Regions from separate parts of the Homo sapiens genome. Here regions 2, 3, 4, 5, 6 and 7 are each linked to region 1. Evidence: promoter capture Hi-C in 16 types of primary human blood cells and fetal thymus (Javierre and others, 2016). All regions are on one chromosome and are shown on one strand. The core of a region is centred on a gene start or on the middle of the fragment in contact, and the rest is flanking DNA. Distances in the headings are between cores, read along the strand shown.

Region 1 (3,395 bases), core at 896-3,395:
AGTTATTTTCTGTAATGCATTTTCTGTGAATTTATTGTCTTAAAAATTGGCAAATATGGCCATTTTGACATATTTGCCAAATATGAGCATATGGCAACTATGCTCTTAATTTGTTAAGTCACCAACTGTTGGTGGTAACTGTTGAAATAACAAGAGCAAAGTTATCACCAATCTACGGGATCCTTACACTACTGATATTTTCAATAATGCACCGTAGTCAGACATTGTAGACTTAACCTCTGAGCTGCTCACAAAATTACTAAATCATTCTGAAATACGTAACTGCAAATTCTGGGCTTTAAAGTCTCTAGTTAAATGGGTGATTTTGAAAATTGGTGGCTGTTCAGACATTTTCAAATGAGAATAGAATGCATTTGTTTCAGACTGATAAACTGCAGAAGGTTAGATAACACCAAACACATTTGAGTTTCTCCTAAGAAAATGACTTGGGCCTCCAGATTACATCTCATTTTTTTTTTTTTTACCCTATCAAGTTTGTTTTTCCATATGAAATGTCTTTCCCAACTACACCTGCCCTTGGAGACTGTGAATAACAGACTTAAAGGAAGTATCCTTTCCAGATGAGCTGAAGAATGTCATCCTCTTAAAAGAATGAACAGCTGGTCATGTAGAAATTCTCTGGAATGCTCACTTGTCCTACAAAGGCAGGGGAGCAGAAAACATGTAGTTTTTTTGTTATTGGTATACATAATTGTAAATCTTCGAGATAATTTTACTAGAAGTCCACATAATTTTAATAATTGCCTTTCTCCTGAAAAGATTGCTAATAAATTAACAATGTGAAGGCTAGAAAGCTGGCCAAGCATAATCCGGTGGGACTCAGGATTGCTGGCTGGATTGTCCCGTTTGATCAGACATTGTTTCTTAGATGAATATTCAGGACGCCCTCGTGTATAAAAGTTGTCCTTTGTTCTGACTACCTTGGTATTAAGTTCGAATTTCTTACCATGACACACAAAGGATTCGATTCTTGCTTAGCTCTCTAAGCTCCTCTCACTTTCTCTTCCCCTCTTGAATTCTTTGCTCTTGCCACACAACTAGCAGATGAACTAATCTATCTGTTCCAACGTGGGCACAGTAGCAGCCGTAACTCTTACCTTGGCCCACTCTGACTTGTCCAGCCCTGGTTGAATTCTTCGTATCCCCGTGAGGGTCCGCACGTAGTTGGGGCTGTTTACTAAACGGATGAACTTCCCTACCGGGAGGCTAGGTCTCGGTTATGCCTTACTTCCCAGGAAGCGGCTTCTATAGGCATTGTTTAAATGTAGGAGTAGGAGGGAGCTGGGGGTATTGCATTCCCCAGGTCACAGATAAATGAGATTCCAAAACCAAGATCTGGCTAGGCCTTGGAAAGAGGGACCTGCGAGGCCGACCAGACGTTTGGAACTGCGCCTTGCAGTGTGGGATCTCAGCACCGGATATTACCCCGGTTTGTAGAGAGTTGAGTTACTGTTTTAAGAGACGTTGCAAACCGTACGGGTCAAGAAGAAAGCCGAAGACGGGTTAGCGCCTGCGGTCGGGGTCGAGAAAAGCAGGCGAGATGCGACCTGACGTGGGTCCGCCTCTCTCCACCCGTGGCAAGCCCGACAGTCGCACTATTGCTTTAACAATCGCCCTCTTTCCAAGAAGAGCTACTTAGTGACCGTGAGCGAATATGCGTGGGAAGACACGATGTCCTCTCGGCCTCTGTGCGCTCAGTTGTTTACCTAGGCGTCCGGGGGAGGCACACTCGCGGGACTCGCGGGACTCGGCCCCGGCCTCCCAGCTCGCCCAGGACACGACGCTGGTTCTGCGGGCTCTCGGAGCCCAGCGCGAATCCCCCGGGCTAATTCCCAAGAACCGAGAGGCAGCACTGCCTGGAGGCTGCCCCCGCCTCCGCGCCCCCGTCCTCACTTTCTGAGGCTGTTAGCAGAGAGTCCCGCGGGCCGGGGAGAAGCGGGACGCGGGGGATGGCCTCGCAGCGCCCTGTGAGCGTCGGCAGTAGTCAGGCAGCCAGGGCTCCTTGGGCGATCGCCCTGGGTAGAGGAGAGGAGTTTCCGGGGCTCGGGTCCGGGTCGCCTTCCAGGGGAACGAGCGCGGAAGCAAGTGGGCGGCGAGAGGCGGAGCAAGAGACGCTGGAGGGCGTGGACGCAGCGGGCTTTGGAAAGGCCCCAAGTTAATGAGGCGTGCGCCGGCTGCCGAGCGCCTCTTGGAGCTGGGCTTTCCCCCGCGGTGCGGGCGCCAGGAGCCGCCTTTTCCGCTGGGTGTCACTCGGGGGTGGGGAAGATGGCCCATTCAAAAGCGCCGCGAGGGGGCCCGGCCAGTGCCCTTCAGTGAGCGCTCGCAAGAGGACGGCAGAGGCCCGGCAGCTCGGAGCTCCGGGACCTTGTGGCGCATCAGGACGCGGCTGTCCCTCTGCCGGGACCCAGAGCCGCCGCCGCCGCTCTGCCTCCTGCGTGTTAGCCTCCTCTGCGCGCTCCGGGCAGGCGGCCGTGGGAGCCGCTGGGGCGAGGACGGCGCGAGGCTGCTGCTGCTGCCCCCGGCCCGCGCGGCTGGAAACGGAGAGGCCGAGCCAAGCGGCGGCCCCTCTTATGCTGGGAGGATGCTGGAGAGTAGCGGCTGCAAAGCGCTGAAGGAGGGCGTGCTGGAGAAGCGCAGCGACGGGTTGTTGCAGCTCTGGAAGAAAAAGTGTTGCATCCTCACCGAGGAAGGGCTGCTGCTTATCCCGCCCAAGCAGCTGCAACACCAGCAGCAGCAGCAGCAACAGCAGCAGCAGCAGCAGCAACAACAGCCCGGGCAGGGGCCGGCCGAGCCGTCCCAACCCAGTGGCCCCGCTGTCGCCAGCCTCGAGCCGCCGGTCAAGCTCAAGGAACTGCACTTCTCCAACATGAAGACCGTGGACTGTGTGGAGCGCAAGGGCAAGTACATGTACTTCACTGTGGTGATGGCAGAGGGCAAGGAGATCGACTTTCGGTGCCCGCAAGACCAGGGCTGGAACGCCGAGATCACGCTGCAGATGGTGCAGTACAAGAATCGTCAGGCCATCCTGGCGGTCAAATCCACGCGGCAGAAGCAGCAGCACCTGGTCCAGCAGCAGCCCCCCTCGCAGCCGCAGCCGCAGCCGCAGCTCCAGCCCCAACCCCAGCCTCAGCCTCAGCCGCAACCCCAGCCCCAATCACAACCCCAGCCTCAGCCCCAACCCAAGCCTCAGCCCCAGCAGCTCCACCCGTATCCGCATCCACATCCACATCCACACTCTCATCCTCACTCGCACCCACACCCTCACCCGCACCCGCATCCGCACCAAATACCGCACCCACACCCACAGCCGCACTCGCAGCCGCACGGGCACCGGCTTCTCCGCAGCACCTCCAACTCTGCCTGAAAGGGGCAGC
Region 2 (3,410 bases), core at 70-2,569, 560 kb before region 1:
CTCCATGTCTGGTGATAAGTATAAATGGGTAATTGTAATAATTAAGACTCACTGAAGAGCAAGAATTAGAGTTCAGACCCTTCAGAGATGATGATCTGGTTGCCCCCACCCAGTCAAGCAACACAGACTCCCTGAAATGGTAGCCAGGATGAGACAAACTAGAATAATCTTTTTCACATCCTTTCAGCCTACCTTTTATACCAACTATTGCTATGGCAACCAGTTTTGTGCAACTGTACCACATATTTATCATTTCAAAACCTGTGCTGCTCTGATGATATGGCATGGATGCCAATGAGAACCCACTCTGCGCTTAGGCATGTACAACCTGGAAGAGTAAAGAAGTTAACACTCTCTGGGACAATCTTTGACTGCACTTGTAATCTATTGCTGGATAACAAGTTACCAAATCTAGCAGCCTAAAACAATAACATGTATTATATCCCAGTTTCTGTGGTCAAGAGTACAGACACAGCTTATTTGGATTTTCTGCTTCCAGGTCTCTCCAGGCTAGAGTCAATGCATCAGGTGGGCTGTGTTCTCATTGGGAAGCTCATCTGCTCCCAAGCTCATATGGTTTGCCGAACGAATTTATTTCATTGAGGATATAGGACTGAAAGCTTCAGTGTGCTGGTTGGCTGTCAGCTGGAGGATGCCATTAGCTCCTAGAGTCCATTCAAGTTGCCTGCCATGTGGTCTACTCCATAGGCAGCAACATAGCAGTTTGCTTCTTCATGGCCAGCAGAAGAGTCTACTAGCAATATGAAGTCTTACATAACATAATGTTATCATAGGAATGCCATTCTGTCACCTTTGCCATATTCTATAAGTTAGATGCTTCACAGATTCCTCCCATATTCATGGGATGTAATTAACAGGGGCATTGATATCAGAAAGTGGGGGTCATTGGAGAATCAGCCTAGGTTCTGTCTGCCAGTCTTTCCTCAGGCCCTCCCATATGAAATATATGGTTTCTCCCCTTCCAAGGTTCCTGTATTAGTCCGTTTTCACACTGCTGATAAAGACATACCTGAGACTGGGAAGAAAAAGAGGTTTAATTGGACTTACATGGCTGGGGAGGCCTCAGAATCATGCTGAGAGGTGAAAGGTACTTCTTACATGGCGGCGGCAAGAGAAAATGAAGAAGATGCAGAAGTGGAAACCCCTGATAAAACCCCTGATAAAACCATCAGATATCGTGAGACTTATTTGCTACCATGAGAACAGTATGGGGGAACCTCCCCCATAATTCAAATTATCTCCCACCAGGGCCCCTCCCACAACCCATGGGAATTGTGGGAGTACAATTCAAGATGAGATTTGGGTGGGGACACAGAGACAAACCATATCAGTTCCCAAGAGTTTCATTCATTATAGCATCAGCTCAAATTCTAAAATTTCATCATGTGAATCAAGTCCAGGTGCAGATGAGCCTCCTACGTATAACCTGTTAAGTAAAGCTCCTGGACACAATTATTCTCTAACTATGGACCTCTGAAACCAAGGAAATGAGTTATCTGCCTCCAACACACCCAACATACAATGGTGGGACAGACACAGGATAATAGCTATAGACATTCCAGTTTAAAAATAGGGGAAATGGGTAGTAAAAAGGAGTCACTAGTCTATAGCAGTTTTGAAATACAACTGGATTTATTGGAAGTTCCTTAATTAAGTTTCTAGGCTTGGGAATGATTCTTCATGGCTCTTGGCTCTGCTTTCTGGGTTCTTGGTTCCACCATCTGAGTCATTCTTCCTTTTTCATGGAAGGTAGCATGTGTTTGCAGATGAGTAGTTTTATCAGCCTGCTTTCTGCCAGTAAAATTTTGGAGGTCTGACAGCCTCTTTTCATTTTCTAGTCTTTCTGTCTGTCTTATTCCAAGTTGGCACTGTTTCTGCAGAAATAATTTTCTCAAGAATGTTGTGGTTCTTTCTGTATTTCAGTGGCATTCACTCTTATCAGACAAAGGCCACATCTACAGATTGTTTCAAAAATAATTCCATCTCCTTTAAGCTTCCTAGAGGCTCAATAGTGTGATTGAGAGGATCTGAGGCATACCCTTAGATCTTTTCAAATCTAAGGGCCGTATCTTGAAATACCCCTGAGTACTCTGACCTTTGATCTTTTGGGGGCTTTAAAAAAGATTATAGAGTAACTTCAAGTGCATTTTCTCTAGAGTAGGCTTTTCTGACAGTGCCCAAAAGCCATCTCCAACTGTTAATATTTTTTGCCATCTGGGGAAGATGAGGATTTTTTAAATTATCAAGTCCTGATTCCTTTTTGCTTAATAGTTCTTCTCTCAATTTGTCTCTTTTCTTGAATTTTCCTGTAAGTAGCAAGAAGAAACCAGTTGTCCCCTTCAACACTTTGCTTGGAAATCTCCTTAACTATATAACCAAATTCATCCATTTACAAGTTCTGCTTTCAACGTAATTGCAAGAAATAATTTCACTAAGCTTTACGCCAGTACATAACAAGGATCTCCCTTCTTCCAGTTTCCTATAGCATGTTCCTTACTTCCTTCTGAGTCCTCAACAGCAGTCTTCAATATCCACATTTCTACTGAGAGTTTGTTCGCAGTGATTTGGGATTTGTCTATCATACTTTTCAAGCATTCTTCTAGTCTCTGTCCACTGATCAGTTTCAAAGCCACAGACATATTTTTACATATTTATTACAGTAGCATTCTACCTCTAGGCACCAAAATCTCTATTAGTTTTCCAATTCGATGTAACAAATTAACACAAGTTGAACACATTAAAATAACACACATTTACTATCTCTCTTTCTGTAGGTCAGGAGTCCAGATACACCTTAGTTGGGTTTTCTACTTTGGGGTCTCTCCAGGCTACAGTGAAGGTGTTGGTTGGACCATGTTCCCATCTGAAAGCCTGAAGAAAGAAGAATCTTCTTCCAAACTCTCTCAAGTTGTTGGGAGAATTCATTTCCTTACAGTCACAGGACTGAGAGCTTCAAGATTTTGTTTTGTTTTGTTTCTGTTGGCTCTCAGCTTCTACAAGCCACCTCTGAGTTCTTTGCCACATGGTCCTCTCCGATAGGCAGTTCATAACATGACAACTTGTTTCTTCAAGACCAGCAGGAAAGTGAGAGAGTGAGTCGGCTATCAAGACAGATTCTTACATAATATAACATAATCATGGGAGTGATATCCCATCACATTTGTCATATATTGTAATGCATGTATTACATTACATCATGGGAGTAACATCCTATCACCTTTGCCTTATTCTTCTGGCTGGAAGCAGTTCACAAGTTCTACCCAGTCTTACGGTGAGGGGCATAAAGAAGGTCATTAATACCAGAAGGCAGAGATCATTGGGGGTTACCTTAGGATATGTCTGCCACATTGGGGGAAGGCAGACAATTCTAGGTAGCTATTCAAAGATCC
Region 3 (3,141 bases), core at 83-2,582, 660 kb after region 1:
GAGGCAGGAGAATTACTTGAACCCAGCAGGCGGAGGTTGCAGTGAGCCAAGATCGTGCCACTGCACTCCAGCCTGGGCGACAGAGACTCCGTCTCAAAAAAGAAACAACAAACAAACAAACAAAAAAGATGAAATCAACCTACTACTCCTTAATGGAGGTAAGGAAGAGTATGTATGGAATACAGGAGACTCCATAGAGCGTTTCTTAGTTTTGCCATGCCTGTGATTAAGGTCAATGGGAAACTAACAACAGGTAGTCATAAATACAACCACGTGACCAGTTGCAGAAACGAGGACTGTAATTGTCATAAGTATTTTCTCCTTATTTTGTTAAGAATATGTTTGTGCATGTATACACTTGTACTAAGAAAGTATCTTCATTTTATTCCCTCTATTTTTCCTTTATCATGTGACATAAGATTTACTGACTTCATTTAGACATTTAAGTGTTCTTAACTTTATGTAATAACATTTAGGTTAATGATTAGAGCACTTCCGGTTGTACAAAGGATAGCTGTATTATATTAGACATAATTATAACCTTATTATTGTCTTTATTTGGAGATTATATATGATTTCAGGAGATGTGTATTTTTCAAGTAGACAAGGGGTGGACTTGTGATGGTTAATATTGTCAACTTTATTGAAGGATGCAAAGTATTGTTCCTGGGTGTGTCTGTGAGAGTATTGCCAAAGGAGAGCAGTGAACTGGGAAAAGCAGACCCACCTCAATGTGGGTGGGCAACATCCAATCGGCTGCCAGCTAGAATAAACCAGGCAGGAGAAGATGGAAGAGCCGACTTGCTGAATCTTCCAGCCTTCATCTTTCTCGTGTGCTGGATGCTTCCTGCCCTCAAACATCAGACTCCAGGTTCTTCGTCTTTTGGACTCTCGGATTTACATCAGTGGTTTACCAGGTGCTCTCAGGCCTTCAGCCACACACTGAAGGCTGAATTGTCGGCTTCCCGACTTTTGAGATTTTGAAACTTGGACTGAGCTACTGCTGGCTTCCTTGCTTCTCAACTTACAGATGGGACTTCACCTATAGATCATGTGAGTCAATTCTCCTTAATAAATTCTCATTTATACATGCATATAACCTAGTAGTTCTGTCCCTTTAGAGAGCCCTAATGCAATAGCTGAGGGAAGCTGGAGCTTGCCTTAGTTGAGAAGAAAAACATCCAGATAATTTACTCCACAGGAGTCAACAATTCAGCATTGATGATTTTGAAAACTGAATTTATTAAATATTATGTTTTTTTCCTTCAGAAAAAAGAAATGCCAGTACTGAATAATTATCTGGTTTGTAGAAATGTTGTTACCTATACTAATTTTATATGGCTTTTAAAAGATATGCTGTTAGCATCCTGTTATTTTCTGTGGGGCATATTTAAAAATAAATCTCCTAGAAGAGTGCAACTTTAATTTGCAGAACATATATTTACTTTTTAAAGGTTGAAAATTTAGTTAATTTAACTTTTTGAGTTTAATTCATTGATTTATTCCCCAACCATTGATTATGGCCATAATGTATAACATTACATGCTATCTGAAAAAACTTTCCTCAGTAACATTTTGTTTCTGAATGATGTTGATGGTATTCATAAAGGAAACTATTGGTATCTAAGGAAACTATTTGATATGTGAAAAGTCTTTAGTTCTCTAAATGTACTATAACTAAAATGATAATCCATTCTCATTAGAAAATTAAAGAGTGGAACACTTTTGATACACATATGGATTTGTAATTAAAAAATAATCTTAAGACTTTATTCTACTGCTATCCATTTTCCATACTACAGTACATTTTTTGAGTTAAAAACAAACATTAAATTTAGGTATCAGGCAAGAGTGTAGAAGATTCAGTAAAGAAGCAAAGTGATGATAAGTTATATTAAGCAATAAACTATTCCTTTATTTTAACATTTGAGAATTTCTTTTGTATATAAATGACATTAAAAGATTCTCAGAAGAAGAAAACCTAAGCTGAATGGATTAAAGGCTGTCTGCTGAGGTGCTCTCCCCGTTGGCTTCAGAAATGGATTTTCTGTCAAAAACAAAAACAAAACCAGAATAGTTAAGAGTTCAATTGATTTTCAACGGGAGGAAATAATTTAATTAATACTAAAATATTTTGATACATACGGTTAGGTATAATAAGTTGTGGAGTCCCTAAAGTAAAAATTAAAGTTAATATTATAAAATGTTATAAAACAAGAAAACATATTTCTTTGCTTTTATGGCTTTTAGAATAAGACAATCAACTAACAAAAATTAGTTTGACTTTTTAACAAGAAAATGAAACTTTCCTACTCAATCCTACAGTACTTAAAACTCTTTACGATGCTTCCTACCAACAGTGTTATGTCAACAAATATTTCTAAAACACCTCTGAGTGTTGAAGGCACAAAAGTCAAAACCAGAAAAAGCTATAAAGTAGTTAACTTTATTTTTCCCACTCTTTCATTCCCAATTCACGTCCCTGAAGAAACGTAATTTCTTCATGTTGAATTTTTTGTATGCAGAACTCATTAACAATCTCATTCATTTCTGTAATGGTCCTTACTCCAAATATTTCTCGATGTCTTTTCCACATCAAACTTTCCTCCCCAGTTTACCATTCTAATAGCATCCAGCACTTCATTAGGAAATAATCTACTTAAAAAAATAATTAATTAATTTTTTTGACCTTCTACTACGTATTCAGCATGATTCTAGCTTTGGATATAATGGTTACCAGCAAAAAATAAAATCCCTTTTATTGTGGAAAAATGAGGAGAGAAAAATCTATACTCAATTTTAAAATTAAATAAATAAATAAGATGAGTAAAAATGATAATGTCAGCGATGAATGCTACAAAATATAAACTGGGTTAAATGATAGAAAATTTGGAACTGAATTATAGTAATAGCTAAAATGTATTGAAAAATTACTTTTTGAGAGGCTCAAATAATTTTGTGTATTTAATCATATTTAATACGCTTAATCACCTCTTGAGTTAAACCATCTGACTCCAAGGTCTACATATATAACTGTTATGCTATATTGCGTATCTCTCAAATAAGAAGCCAACCAAGCTAAAATATATTTTCTGATAAAGATTGATCAACAAAAAAGAGAAAAAGTACAAGTCAAAAGTC
Region 4 (3,296 bases), core at 617-3,116, 610 kb after region 1:
AAAAAAAAAAATTAGCTGGGCATGGTGGCACCTGTCCGTAGTATTAGCTACTTGGGAGGCTGAGGCAGGAGGATCACCTGAGCCCAGGAATTCGACGTTACAGTGAGCTATGATCATGCCACTGCATTCCAGCCTGTGTGACAGAGCAAGACCCTGTCTCTTTTCCAGAATCTACAAAGAACTTAAACAAATCTACAAGAGAAAAACAAACAACCCCATCGAAAAGTGGGCAAAGGACATGAACAGACACTTCTCAAAAGAAGACATTTATGCATCCAACAAACAAGAAAAAAAGTTCATCATCACTGGTCATTAGAGAAATGCAAATCAAAACCACAATGAGATACCATCTCATGCCAGTTAGAACAGTGATCATTAAAAAGTCAGGAACCAACAGATGCTGGAGAGGATGTGGAGAAATAGGAACACTTTTACACTGTAGGTGGGAGTGTAAACTAGTTCAACCATTGTGGAAGACAGTGTGGGGATTCCTCAAGGATCTTGAACCAAAAATACTATTTGGCCCAGTAATCCCATTACTGGGTACATACCCAAAGAATTATAAATCATTCTACCATAAAGACACCTGCAAACATATGTTTATTGCAGCACTGTTCACAATAGCAAATACTTGGAACCAACCCAAATGCCCATCAATGATAGACTGGATAAAGAAAGTGTGGCACATATACACCATGGAATACTATGCAGCCATAAAAAAGGATGAGTTCATTTCCTTTTCAGGGACATGGATGAAGCTGCAAACCATCATTCTCAGCAAACTATCACAAGAACAGAAAACCAAACACTGCATGTTCTCACTCATAAGTGGGAGTTGAACAATGAGAACACATGGACACAGGGAGAAGAACATCACACACTGGGGCCTGTCAGGGGGTCAGGGCTAGGGGAGGAATAGCTTAGGAGAAATATCTAATGTAGATGATGGGTTCATGGGTGCAGCAAACCACCATGGCATGTATATACCTATGTAACAAACCTGCACGTTCTGCACAGGTACCCCAGAACTTAAAGTATAATAATTAAAAAACAACATAATATGCTATTTACTTATTATCCAAATTTATCTCCTACCATATTCCTCTAAGCATTGTATATTTTAGCTACAGTTATACTTTTGGAGTATATTCTCTCATGTTTGGAAAAACTAAAAGAAAAATGTAATCAAACATATTTTCTACTTTTTACTTTTGAAATATTTGGAGATTTCAGCTTTTTGGAGGAAAAACTAAAAGAAAAGGGTATTAAATATATGCTACTTCATAAATATTTTGGAATATACTATCCTTTAAAGCAGTTATTATCAAACAGGCTGCTGTTTGGGCATAAACTGTGAAGCTTTTTAAGGGTATAACTGTTAGTTCTCATTCTTTCTTTCTGACACTCTGGTATGTCCTCAGGGGAAGGAATAGGGTTAAGATAGAACAGAAAAAGCTCTGCAGTTTAGAAAAATCTAAAGATGATACTGTGTCAACCATCCTTTGATAACATAATAGTAGCATTCTGATCAAAGGAATAATATTAACATGACCATAAAAAACTAGTGTTCAATCGCTTATTTTTCTTGTCCAATCCATTATGCATTTTTTTCATGTTTATTTTCTTTATCTTACTGCATAGAAAATCTGTGCATTTGTCACGTCTGCCACATCGAGTACAAAATATTCCTGGTTCATAAGGTCTTCTCGTCAGTGTTCCTCTACAAACAAAAAAGCAGAAAACATTTAGTTAGAATAAGCTTCCATTTTTACATGTAATTTAAATAATATAGTTACTAATTTTTAATCAGGTTAAAAAGGCGGGTTAAGAAACTGGACTTAAGGAAATACTTTAATTAGAGATTCAATGTTTCCCTTTTGTTCTCCCCTAGGAAACGGTCTTTTCTGAAACGAATTCCCATGCCCTAGAAACAAAGTATTATAATTAAATATAAGAATCGGTTTTAAAGCTTCTTTCATTTTAGTTTATAGCAAAATGTATCCTTTAAAAATGAATGATGTAGACCGGGCGCGGTGGCTCATGCCCGTAATCCCAGCACTTTGGGAGGCTGAGGCAGGCAGATCACAATGTCAGGAGATCGAGACCATCCTGGCTAACACGGTGAAACCCTGTCTCTACCAAAAATACAAAAAATTAGCCAGGTGCGGTGGCAGGTGCCTGTAGTCCCAGCTACTCGGGAGGCTGAGGCAGGAGAATGGCGTGAACCCAGGAGGCGGAGCTTGCAGTAAGCTGAGATGGGCCACTGCACTCCAGCCTGGGCAACAGAGTGAGACTCTGTCTCAAAAAAAAAAAAAAAAGAATGATGTAGGCTGGGTGGGGTAGCTTCCCCACCTGTAATGCTGGTGCTTTGGGAGGCCAAGGTGGGATAATCTCTTGAGACCAGGAGTTCGAGACCAGCCTGGGTAACATAGCAAGACCTCGTCTCTTCAAAAAGATATATTTTTTTAATTAGCCGGGCATGGTGCGTGCCTGTAGTCCCAGCTACTCGGGATACTGAGGAGGGAGGATCAGTTGAGTCCAGGAGTTTGAGGCTGCAGTGAGCTGACTGTGCCACTGCACTCTAGCCTGGGCAACAGAGCAAGGCTCTGTCTCTAAAATAAATAAAGAAATAAAGAAATAAAATTTAAAAATAAATGATATAGAATTTTTTATAATTAATTGCTTCCTGGTTGGCCCAAATACATAAAAAGTTTCATAGAAATGATATATTAAGTATCTGTAGAGTTTACAAAATTCTGAAATGCTTGTGTCCCAAAGACTCATCTGCATCAATTATTTTGGGGGTATATATAAAAACACATAAATTTATAAAGAAGCAAATAAATATAAATGGGAGTTTACAAAGTTGATTTAACCCATTGTACAGAGCTAAAGAGAGAAGAAATAATTACATCAATTGCCTACAGCTAAATGAGAAAAAAGGCCCTAAAGTACTTTTAAATTGGGAAATTTAAATAAATGATCTAGGATAAGAAAGGTAGAAAAAACAAGTAGGGAAAAGATACATTTGAGTGGGGGCAGCATCATTAATCCTGGTAATTTAATCAGTATTGCCTATTTACCTGGTATATAATTGGGAGCTATAAAAACAAACATTCATTATTTAAGTCCTTGGTTAGGCCTTCTAGAAGAATGGCCAAGCCTAAGAAATATATATTCAAAAACCTGAGTATCACATTTCTCAGATATATCTTATTTAATCAGAGAGTTTGGGTGATACCCAATAAGGCATCTGATACCCTTGAATTGTAAGCATTCAAGTCTATCAGGAACAT
Region 5 (3,171 bases), core at 611-3,110, 680 kb after region 1:
CTTAATATTGAGTTCTAATTTGATTGTATTTTGTTCTGAGAGACTGTTATGATTTCAGTTCTTTTGCATTTGCTGAGGAGTGATTTACTTCCAATTATGTGCAGTTTTAGAGTAAGTGCCTTGTGGCACTGAGAAGAATGTATATTCTGTTGTTTTGGGGTGGAGAGTTCTGCAGATAACTGTCAGGTCCACTTGATCCAGAGCTGAGTTCAACTTCAGGATATTTTTGTTAATATTCTGTCTCTGTCATCTGGCTAATATTGACAGTGGGGTGTTAAAATCTTCCACTATTATTGTGTGGGAGTCTAAGTCACTTTGTAGGTCTCTAAGAACTTGTTTTATGAATCTGGGTGCTCCTGTATTGGGTGCATATATATTTAGGACAGTTAGCTCTTCTTGTTGAATTGATTACTTTACCATTATGTAATGCCCTTCTTTGTCTTTTTTGATCTTTGTTGGTTTAAAGTTTGTTTTATCAGAAACTAGGATTTCAACCTCTGCTTTTTTCTGTTTTCCATTTGCTTGGTAAATTTTCCTCCATCCCTTTGAGTCTATGTATGTCTTTGCATGTGAGATGGGTCTCTTGAATGCAGCTCACTGATGGATGTTGGCTCTTTATCCAGCTTACCATTCTGTGCCTTTTATATGGGGCCTTTAGGCCATTTACATTTAACGTTAGTATAGTTATATGTGAATTTGATCCTGTCATCATGATGCTAGCTGGTTATTTTGCAGACTGATTTATATAGTTGCTTCATAGTGTTGTTGGTTTGTGTACTTCAGCATGTTTTTTGTAGTGACTGGTAACCATTTTTCCTTTCCATATTTAGTGCTTCCTTCAGGAGCTCTTGCAAGGCAGGCCTGGTGGTGATGAATTCCCTCAGCATTTGCTTGTCTGAAAAAAAATCTCATTTCTCCTTCGCTTATGATGTTGTTTGGCTGGATATGAAATTCTAGACTGAAAATTTTTTTCTTTAAGAATGTTAAATATTGGGCCAGCACGATGGCTCATGCCTGTAATCCCAGCACTTTGGGAGGCCAAGGAGGGTGGATCACCTGAGGTCAGGAGTTCGAGACCAGGCTGGCCAACATGGCAAAACCCCGTCTGTACTAAAAATACAAAAATTAGCTGGGTGTGGTGGGGAGCGCCTCTAATCCCAGCTACTCAGGAGGCTGAGGCAGGAGAATCACTTGAACCTGGGAGGTGGAGGTGGTAGTAAGTCAAGATCACACCAGTACACTCCACCTTGGGTGACAGAGTGGGACTCCATCTCAAAAAAAAAAAAAACAAAACAAAACAGAGTGTTAAATATTGTTCCCAATCTCTTCTGGTTTTTAGGATTTCTGCTGAGAGGTCTGCTGTTAGTCTGATGGGCTTCCCTTTGTAGGTGGCCTGGCCTTTCTCTCTGGCTGCCCTTAACATTGTCTCCTTCACTTTGACCTTGGAGAATCTGATGATTATGTGTCTTGGGGTTGATCTTCTCATGGAGTATCTTACGGGGGTTCTCTGGATTTCCTGAATTTGAATGTTGACCTTTCTTGCTAGGTTGAGGAAGTTCTCCTGGATGATATCCTGAAGTGTGTTTTCCAACTCAGTTCTTTCTCCCCATTTATTTCAGGTACCCCAATCAGTCATAGGTTCAATCTTACATAATCTCATAGTTCTCACAGGTTTTGTTTGTTCCTTTTTTCTCTAATCTTGTCTGCCTGCCTTATTTCAGCAAGATAGTCTTCAAGCTCTGATATCCTTTCTTCCACTTGGTCTGTTTGGATATTGATACTTGTGATTGCATTGTGAAGTTCTTGTGTTGTGTTTTACAGCTCCATCAGTTCATTTATGTTCCTCTCTAAACTGGTTATTCTGGTTAACAGCTCCTGTAATATTTTATCATGGTTCTTAGCTTCTTCGCAATGTGTTAGAATATACTCCTTTAGCTCAGTGAAGTTCATTATTATGCATCTTCTGAACCCTATTTTTGTCAATTCGTCCATCTCAGCCTCATCCCAGTTCTGTGCCCTTGCTGGAGATGTGTTGTGATCATTTGCAGCTGAAGAGACACTCTGGCTTTTTGAGTTTTCAGCATTTTTGCGTTGATTCTTTCTCATCTTCAAGGGTTTATCTACCTTTGATCTTTGAATCTGCTGACCTTTGGATGGGGTTTTTGTGGTCTTTTTTTATTGATGCTGTTGTTGCTTTCTGTTTGTTCTTTTAGCAGTAAGGCCCCTTTTCTGTAGGGCTGCTGTGGTTTCCTGGGGGCCTACTCCAGACCCTGTTCACCTGGGTCCCTCTGACACCTGGAAGTATCACCAGTGGAGGTGGCAGAACAGCAAAGATGGCAGCCTGATCTTTCCACTGGGCATTCTGTCCCAGAGGGGCATTGACCTGATGCCCGCCAGAATGCTCCTGTATGCAGTGCCTGGAGACCCCTGTTGGGAGATCTCACCCAGTCAGGGGAAATAGGATAAAGGACCCACTTAAATAAGCAGGAATTTCCCTTGTCCAGACTACCCAGACTCCTCAGAGCTTGCCATCAGAAAAGGATAAGATTGCAGTCCATGATACTGTGGCTGCCCCTCCTCCTAGGGGCTCCTCTCAGGGAAATCAGAGATCTGTCCATAAACCCCTGGCTGGGGGTGCTGAAAATCCCTCAGGTAGGCCCTGCCTGGCAAGAAGGAATGTGTCAGGGTCTCGCTTAAAGAAGCAGTCTGGCCACAAACTGTCACAGTGGCTGTGCTGTGCTGTGGGGAATTTCTCCTGGTCCAAACCAGTCAGTCTTGCTGGCACCAGCAGCAGGGGAAAATGGCCAACTGGAGCCACAGTGGTGGTGGGCACCCCTCCCTCCCGGGACCCGGTCTTCTTAGGCAGTCTCCAGCCTGCCCCGCTGGCCAGCAGGGAGTCCAATGTAAGGAAATCAATTTCCACTAAAAGTTGTATTGCAGCTGATACACTTTTTATCTTTTTGGATATTTTTTCCTCTATGGATTCTATCTTGGATAATTTTTTTCTTTTCTTTTTTTAAAGAGATAGGGTCTTGCTCTGTTTCTCAAGGCAATCATGGCTCACTGCAGTCTTGAACTCCTGAATCACTGTCTTGGATAATTTCTAATGTTATGATTTTGAATTCATTAATCTTTTTTTCTGGAATGTCTAATATTTCATTAATTTTAACT
Region 6 (3,288 bases), core at 130-2,629, 720 kb after region 1:
CAGAGCAAGTGATGATAGACCACTTATCTAGGTGAGAATTAGCAACTGGTAATAGAAATCAATTCAGAAAGTTTTCATTAAATTTATTTTCATGCATGACATTCATATCCTTGGTCAATTAAAGGGTGGCTAACTCAGAGGTTCCCAAACTTTCTCTGTTTACTGCACCGTTAGTGTTTTAGTCATTTTTTTTCACAGCACTCTTAGACGAATAGAAATACCTAACAGTTCTATTTGTTAAATATTTTTCTCTAAACAACTTAATAAATATTTATTTCCTAACAACTAATGACCATTTAAAAAAATAATACACATAAATTGAAAGAAGATATCCTTACTTTATTCTTACTAAGGATCTGTATGCATCTTATGGGCACTGCACAGTGTCTCAAATCCTAGAATCATTTACAATGCTGCCACTTTCACTTTATATTCCATATTGATTTTCACCTGATATTTGCTTTTTATCATAGCAACTATAGAAAACTCAGCTCTGCAAAGATGTAACATCATTGAAGGAGTATAGTGTGCTGTCTTGTTGAAACTGTGAACTACCCTGAGGCTGAACTAGTAGTTTACTTGATGTGCAAGTGATGTCAAGTATCACTGAGTTTCCCTCAAAAATTAAAAATATCCCATAGTACCCCTGTGAGTTCACTGTGGTACCTCAGGGTTCCTTGGTGCAGTTCAAGAACTGTGAGACTGTTAAGAATTTTAAAACCCCTTAGAAAACTAAAGTTTTAACATATGCAGTGCTGAATTGCTTGATAATATGGAACTATGCTAGAATTTCTGAAGAGGTTGGAATAATCTACTTCAAGGAAAAAGTAAGACTTAGCTTTGAAAAAACTGTTTAGTTGTGTGGCAGAAAGAATGCATGACAGAAATAATGGTGGCTGTTTCTACATGCATGTTTTTCAGTAAATTCTTTGAAATAATTATACCTAGAGTCTCCCATGTCCCTCCTTCCATTGTCTCATGAACTTAGTGTTTTCACCTCCACCATCCATGCCTCCAACAACTTTTTTCCATGAGTAGTGACATCCATATTGCTAGACTAATGATTTCTCAGTTCTCGTTTACTTGACCCATCTGCAGCAGTTGTCTCATTTGAAACCTTATTTTCTTTGAGGCAGGTTTTTTTTTTTTTTTTTGTTTTTTTTTTTGTTTTTTTTTTTCCTGCATGGCTTCCTGCACGTGACACGTGACTGTTCTCCTACCTTTCTCCCCTTCTCAGAATCTCTCCTGGTTCTTCTTCATCTTCCCTACGTGGGTGTGCCCAACAGCTCAGTTATTGGACCTCTTTTGTGTTTGCTTTTTAAGTGATCTCATCCAGTATCATGCCTTTAAAAACCAGCTATATTCTGATGCTTCTCTAAGATTTCAATTTAACTTTCTCCAATCTGGGTGTCTGAAATTTTATTGCCCTCTCTTCCTCCATGACCAAATCTTTAATTTTCCTCCATAGTAACTCAATTCTTCATGTTACTAAGACCTAAAATCCTGGTGATATTTTGATCCCTTTCTTTCTCTCAAATACTATATCCAGCTTGTCAACAAACATGCTCAGTCCTGCTATCAACATAGATTTACTCCCTCTGCTGCCACCATCCTGTTCAAACTTATTTTGTGTGTCTCCTGGATTATTTCAGGGACTGCTTAACTGGCCTCATTGTTTCTGCATTTGCCTCTTACTGGTTTATTTTCAACCCGGCACCCCGTAGTTAATCCATTAAAAGGCAAGCCAGATAAAACCTTCCAGGAATTTCTCATTTTAATCATAGTGAAGCCTACGAGGCTCACGTATTAATTATGTGTCACCACAAAACTCAGTAGCTTAAAAGAACAGTAATTTTTGCTCATGTGTCTTTAGGTTAGCTATCAAGGCTTGCCATGGCTGGAAGGGCCTTACTTTTTATTTTGACCAGTTGTATATGAGCAAAAGCAATGGTCTTAGGTTTGATCTTAGGCTTTAAATGATCTCATGTGTTTCCATTTGCCCTTTAGTGCTTCTGCTACCTTTGAGAGAAGAACACTGCTTGGCTAGCCTGGTAGTCTCAAGAAAAAGGTCCTTCTACAAATGCCACTGAGCTACTTAGCTGAAACCATCCTAGATAAACAGATTTCCAACCAATCCGCATTTGCATGACTTAGTTCAGTTGAGATTAGCAGAGTCGTATAACTGTGTGTAACTGACCAAAGCAAGTCAAAAGCTCAAGGTCAAGGGGTGAGAAAGTGCATACCACCTTTAATGAGGCCATAGCAAGGAAATGGATCAGGATTACTAAAAAATTCAGGCCAATAACACAGTCTATCCAAGCCCACCATTGGACCTTGGACCTTGGACTTCTCTCCCTCTTACCTATTCTCCTCTAGCCATTTGACTTATCCCTGTTCTGGAACATACCAGGTTCCATTCCTGTCTTAGGTACTTTGCATTTATTTTCCCCTCTTCTTGGAATGCCTTTTCCCCAGAAATTTATATGTCTGCTTACTCATTTTAGCTCATATCTTTACTTAGAAGTCACCTTGGTGAGGCCTACTTTGGCCTTACCATAAATAAACCATAAATACATTTAAATAAATAAATTGACCATAAATAAATTTATGATGCCTTTCTCAAAACTTTGTATCTTCTTACCATTTCTTTTTTTCTTCCATAGGGGCATGTAATTCATGTTGTATTTTCTCTGTTTATCATGTTAATTATCTTTCAGCCTCTTCAGAATGTGAGCTTCATGAGGGCAGAGCACTTTGGAAGTTTTGCTCACTATTACACTCCCATTGCCTAGTCTAGTAGCTGTATAGTAAAACTTGTTGAATAGGTAAATGAATGAATGAACTGGAAAAGAGGACTTAAATGCAGTCAGCAGAATTTGGTTTTAGGTTTAGCTATGTGACTAATTTGCTGTTTGAGGTTTCATATTTTCCTTCTCTATGTCTTGATTTTTGCTTCTGCCAAATTAACATTAAGATTTCTTATAACTCTAACATTCTGTGTATGTATATTTAACACAGAACTGATAAATAAAGTGTGAGAATAGAATAGGTGCCACTTTTTTATAAATGCCAGCCTTTTTCATTTGGGGGTTTAAAAAATATCTTAATGCTCAATTTAAAAAGAAGATTTAGTTCCTAACTTGGCACACAAATGAACAGAATCTACAGTATATGGTAGAGATGACTAAAGCTTTTCCTGAATGTTCCAGCAATTGAAATAACTCAATAAATTCATAAGTTCTTCTATCTTTGAATTGTTGTTTCATTTTCATAGTTTTGAAGGTTCAT
Region 7 (2,952 bases), core at 64-2,563, 640 kb after region 1:
TAAAATCAACATTAAAACAAATGACCATTTTTGTAATTTATTCATTTAGCAAGTAATTGAACATGTCCAAATCAGTGAGGATGTGGTGAAAACAGAACAGCTGGTATTTGCTAAATTTGGCACTACCCTTTAGCATAGCAATTGCTATGTGTTAAATTAATAAAAAATATCATACCCTTAATTTATTTATCCCATTTCTGAAATTTGTGCTAAGAACTAATGCTGAAGGAAGAAAAGACATGTCTAGGAAAGTAGTCCTTGCAATATAATTTATAAGTTTGAAGCTTCTAATTCCCTAAGAGGACAGTTATTTATTTGCCGGATTTTCAGTCATTTTAATGACAGTCAGGAAAACTCAATAGCAACCAGGGAATAGTTGAGTTGTTAAATGACTATAGGGTGTAAAAGAGGGGGAAAGCAAGAACCGCATTGTAAGGTAAGGCAAAATCAGGGTCAAGACTAGGGTGAGGAAACTGAGACACTTCCTTAGGAGCCAAATTTGGAATGGGCACAAAAAAAAAAAATCAAGATAACAAACATTTTTAAAAGGCAAAGCTAATGTGACATCGATGATGGAAAAAGCTAAAAATAAAAATTTCAAATACAAACAGAATCTCATCTTGATTTGCACCACCCTGAGAGTGTCGCACTTGTTTTTCCCTAATCCAGACCCAAGGAACCTGTCTTTGTTAAATTTTTTAACATTTTCTTTACCCTTGATATTGATATTTTTGCACTGATTTTTAATTTTTAAAAACCCGTTGCATTAAAATATCATTTTCTTGAATTGGCGCCCCCTTAAAATCTGCACTTCAGGCCAGTGCCTCCATCACCTTAGTCCTGGCCCTGTGTAATATCATGGTAATAAGCATGTGTTAGAGTGTCCGCAGTTTTTCTCTGTGTAAACTTCACGTGTACTTTAAAAACCAAGCTAAAAGTGCGGTTCTCCGCGATCCTTCAGCCTCAGAGCAGTGGCCCCAACTACCCGAGATCCAGGGAGGCGTTGTGGCAACGGTAGTGGAAGGGTCGGCAAACCGCCTTCCGGCCTCACCATGAAGCGCAAGTTAGACCCTCGGGGAATGACGTCGCCCCGCAGCTCATTGTGGAGGTTCACGTACTCGTTGATAAAGTCTACGTCCTCCTCGTCTGGCAAAAATCTGGCGTTCAAACTAGAACCCAGTAGCAGTAGCCACAGCTCACAGAGCCGCAGCTTCAAAACGCCCCCTACTGCCAGGGGTAGGGACTGGGCCCTCCACTCCCGGGCGAAGGGCCTTGCGGCCTCCATGGTCCACCGGCCGCTGACAGGCCAGTGCGCACGCGCTGGCCGTCCCAGTGACCTGCCAATCTACGGAGGACGCAAGCAAGCCTTGTCCCGCCTCCCGGAAGGAGAAAGGGAGGAGGGAGGAGGGAAAAACAAAGGAGGGAGGAGGGGGTAAGGAGGAGGGAGGAGAGAAGAGGGAGGGGAGAGTGGGTAGGGGAGGGGGAGAGGAGGGGAAAGCTAGACCTGCAGAGTGAAGAAAGCTGGTAATAGATGTCTGACAAACTAAAGAAAGACTTGTGTTACGTGAGTAAGCCCTTTTCACTAAACTAATGTAGTGAAATGTTATCCCGAATTGATTTCTGACACTGAATGATATGTCGTTATTAATGAGTCATCAGTTTGTATGGTAAATGCCAATTGCTGAGTAACAGGTCTGAGGAACCTTCTAATTGTGCCAGGTGAAATGATTTTTCTGCGATACAGATACAAATTCAATTAAATTTTTTTTCCCCATTACCTGTTGAGTTGGAAATTTGGTGCAGGGCCTGCCTTTTATTTTCCTCAGGGACAGAATGGAATACAGAAATATTGCTAGTTCTTAAGGCCAAAGAAGTTCTTAAGGCCAACTTAATTGATGAGATTTTTTTCAGTTTTTAAATGAACCTTTGTGGGAAACCACAAAATAAATGGGAGTGAAGGGAGAGTAGGGATCACCAAACTCTTCAAAGGTTAAAACATTTCTACTTCTTCTCTCATCAGCACAATTCAGACAGCCCGGAATATCAAGATTCATCTTTTTCACTAATTGTGGCATTCACAGTAAGAACGAACTCTTTTGTTTTCTTTTTTTGTTCCAGACAAAATTGGCTAATATCTAGCTGATTTTGGTCTGATCTGTTTACCTCCAAACATTTTCCTCAAAAACAAAACAAAACAAAACCAACTTGCTTTGAAGACTTTAAATTCTAAGCATGGAAAAAAAGCAAGTATTAGTTTTGGAATACACGTTTGCATATTACATATTGTGCTTAATAGCATTAAGCAGATATGGAAAATTGACATTGGGAGAGAATTTTACTACAAAACATTGTAACAGGTTAGCCAAACATTTATAAAAAGAAAAGTGCTTTTAAAAATTGTCTGTGATGCACACAATTGAAAAACAATAGACCTATGTAAGATGGTTTCATTTATGCCCTTGAATACTTACTACTATGACTGCATAGTAGTAAGTTTTAAGTGATTGAGAAAGATCAGTAGACAAGACACAGATCCAGCTTTCAAGCAGCTTACAATTTAGTGAATTAGCAATCAGGCAGTATTTAAAACGTGATAAATACAAAGCCAAAATTCTATTGCTTGGTACTCTTGTGGAGGAGCAGGGAAGCCTTTCTGGAAATTGTATACAGAAAGTGAAACAGACAAGTCTAAGATAGCATTCTAAACAAAGGGAAAAGCATGTAATGTGCCTAAGGAGAGGAAGATCCTAAACGCTAGAAGTATTTTAGTATGGCTAGAACCTATTTAAGGGTGAAGGTGGCAAGTGCTGAAAGATGCAATTCTTTTATTATGGTGGTACTGTTGTTAGACTGCAAAAAATGCTAAAGAAAAAGTATAAATAGAATAATGCAATCTTAGATTTGGAAGAAATTTTAGCCACTATTGCTAGCCTCCTGTGTTAGGTATACTCT

The links. The method cuts DNA at HindIII sites, captures the fragments that hold promoters and counts their contacts. A CHiCAGO score of 5 or more calls a contact.
Region 2: a contact is called between a fragment that was not itself captured here and the fragment with the promoter of PHLDA1 in region 1, in 1 of 17 cell types (naive B cells). The highest score is 5.4, in naive B cells.
Region 3: a fragment that was not itself captured here is called in contact with the fragment with the promoter of PHLDA1 in region 1 in 1 of 17 cell types (neutrophils); the score reaches 5.1 in neutrophils.
Region 4: a contact is called between a fragment that was not itself captured here and the fragment with the promoter of PHLDA1 in region 1, in 1 of 17 cell types (total B cells). The highest score is 6.4, in total B cells.
Region 5: a contact is called between a fragment that was not itself captured here and the fragment with the promoter of PHLDA1 in region 1, in 1 of 17 cell types (neutrophils). The highest score is 6.3, in neutrophils.
Region 6: a contact is called between a fragment that was not itself captured here and the fragment with the promoter of PHLDA1 in region 1, in 1 of 17 cell types (neutrophils). The highest score is 7.6, in neutrophils.
Region 7: a contact is called between the fragment with the promoter of GLIPR1L2 here and the fragment with the promoter of PHLDA1 in region 1, in 12 of 17 cell types (naive CD4 T cells, naive B cells, neutrophils and 9 more). The highest score is 10.2, in naive CD4 T cells.

What each region holds. Positions count from the first base shown.
Region 1 is chr12:76,030,526-76,033,920 of GRCh38, reverse strand. PHLDA1 (pleckstrin homology like domain family A member 1) reads left to right here and starts at 2,145. Exons shown (of 2, transcript NM_007350.3): 1 at 2,145-3,395. The coding sequence starts at 2,180. The coding sequence ends at 3,385. It overlaps PHLDA1-AS1 (PHLDA1 antisense RNA 1), which reads right to left. Exons shown (of 2, transcript NR_186034.1): 1 at 3,327-3,395; 2 at 2,543-3,010. It overlaps PHLDA1-DT (PHLDA1 divergent transcript), which reads right to left and starts at 2,108. Exons shown (of 2, transcript NR_185978.1): 1 at 1,119-2,108; 2 at 1-657. RefSeq lists an enhancer at 1,990-2,239 and a silencer at 2,460-2,609. The HindIII fragment of the contact is 8,299 bases long and covers 1-3,395 here.
Region 2 is chr12:76,590,057-76,593,466 of GRCh38, reverse strand. All of the region lies in intron 3 of LOC105369850 (a long non-coding RNA gene), which reads right to left. Among named protein-coding and RNA genes, the nearest start is that of OSBPL8, 32 kb to the right of the region's middle. The HindIII fragment of the contact is 1,394 bases long and covers 623-2,016 here.
Region 3 is chr12:75,368,991-75,372,131 of GRCh38, reverse strand. GLIPR1L1 (GLIPR1 like 1) reads right to left here. Exons shown (of 6, transcript NM_001304964.2): 5 at 2,146-2,172; 6 at 1,572-2,047. The coding sequence ends at 1,956. It also overlaps a transcript of CAPS2 not described here. Among named protein-coding and RNA genes, the nearest start is that of GLIPR1L2, 21 kb to the left of the region's middle. The HindIII fragment of the contact is 6,828 bases long and covers 1-3,141 here.
Region 4 is chr12:75,421,328-75,424,623 of GRCh38, reverse strand. GLIPR1L2 (GLIPR1 like 2) reads right to left here. Exons shown (of 6, transcript NM_001270396.2): 4 at 1,635-1,720. Among named protein-coding and RNA genes, the nearest start is that of GLIPR1L2, 32 kb to the right of the region's middle. The HindIII fragment of the contact is 210 bases long and covers 1,762-1,971 here.
Region 5 is chr12:75,349,668-75,352,838 of GRCh38, reverse strand. All of the region lies in intron 3 of GLIPR1L1 (GLIPR1 like 1), which reads right to left. It also overlaps a transcript of CAPS2 not described here. Among named protein-coding and RNA genes, the nearest start is that of GLIPR1L1, 17 kb to the right of the region's middle. The HindIII fragment of the contact is 5,603 bases long and covers 1-3,171 here.
Region 6 is chr12:75,309,591-75,312,878 of GRCh38, reverse strand. CAPS2 (calcyphosine 2) reads left to right here. Exons shown (of 17, transcript NM_001355024.4): 7 at 1-31. Among named protein-coding and RNA genes, the nearest start is that of CAPS2, 19 kb to the left of the region's middle. The HindIII fragment of the contact is 3,626 bases long and covers 1-3,192 here.
Region 7 is chr12:75,389,450-75,392,401 of GRCh38, reverse strand. GLIPR1L2 (GLIPR1 like 2) reads right to left here and starts at 1,313. Exons shown (of 6, transcript NM_001270396.2): 1 at 1,052-1,313. The coding sequence starts at 1,285. It also overlaps a transcript of CAPS2 not described here. RefSeq lists an enhancer at 1,252-1,381 and a silencer at 1,339-1,511. The HindIII fragment of the contact is 6,589 bases long and covers 287-2,952 here.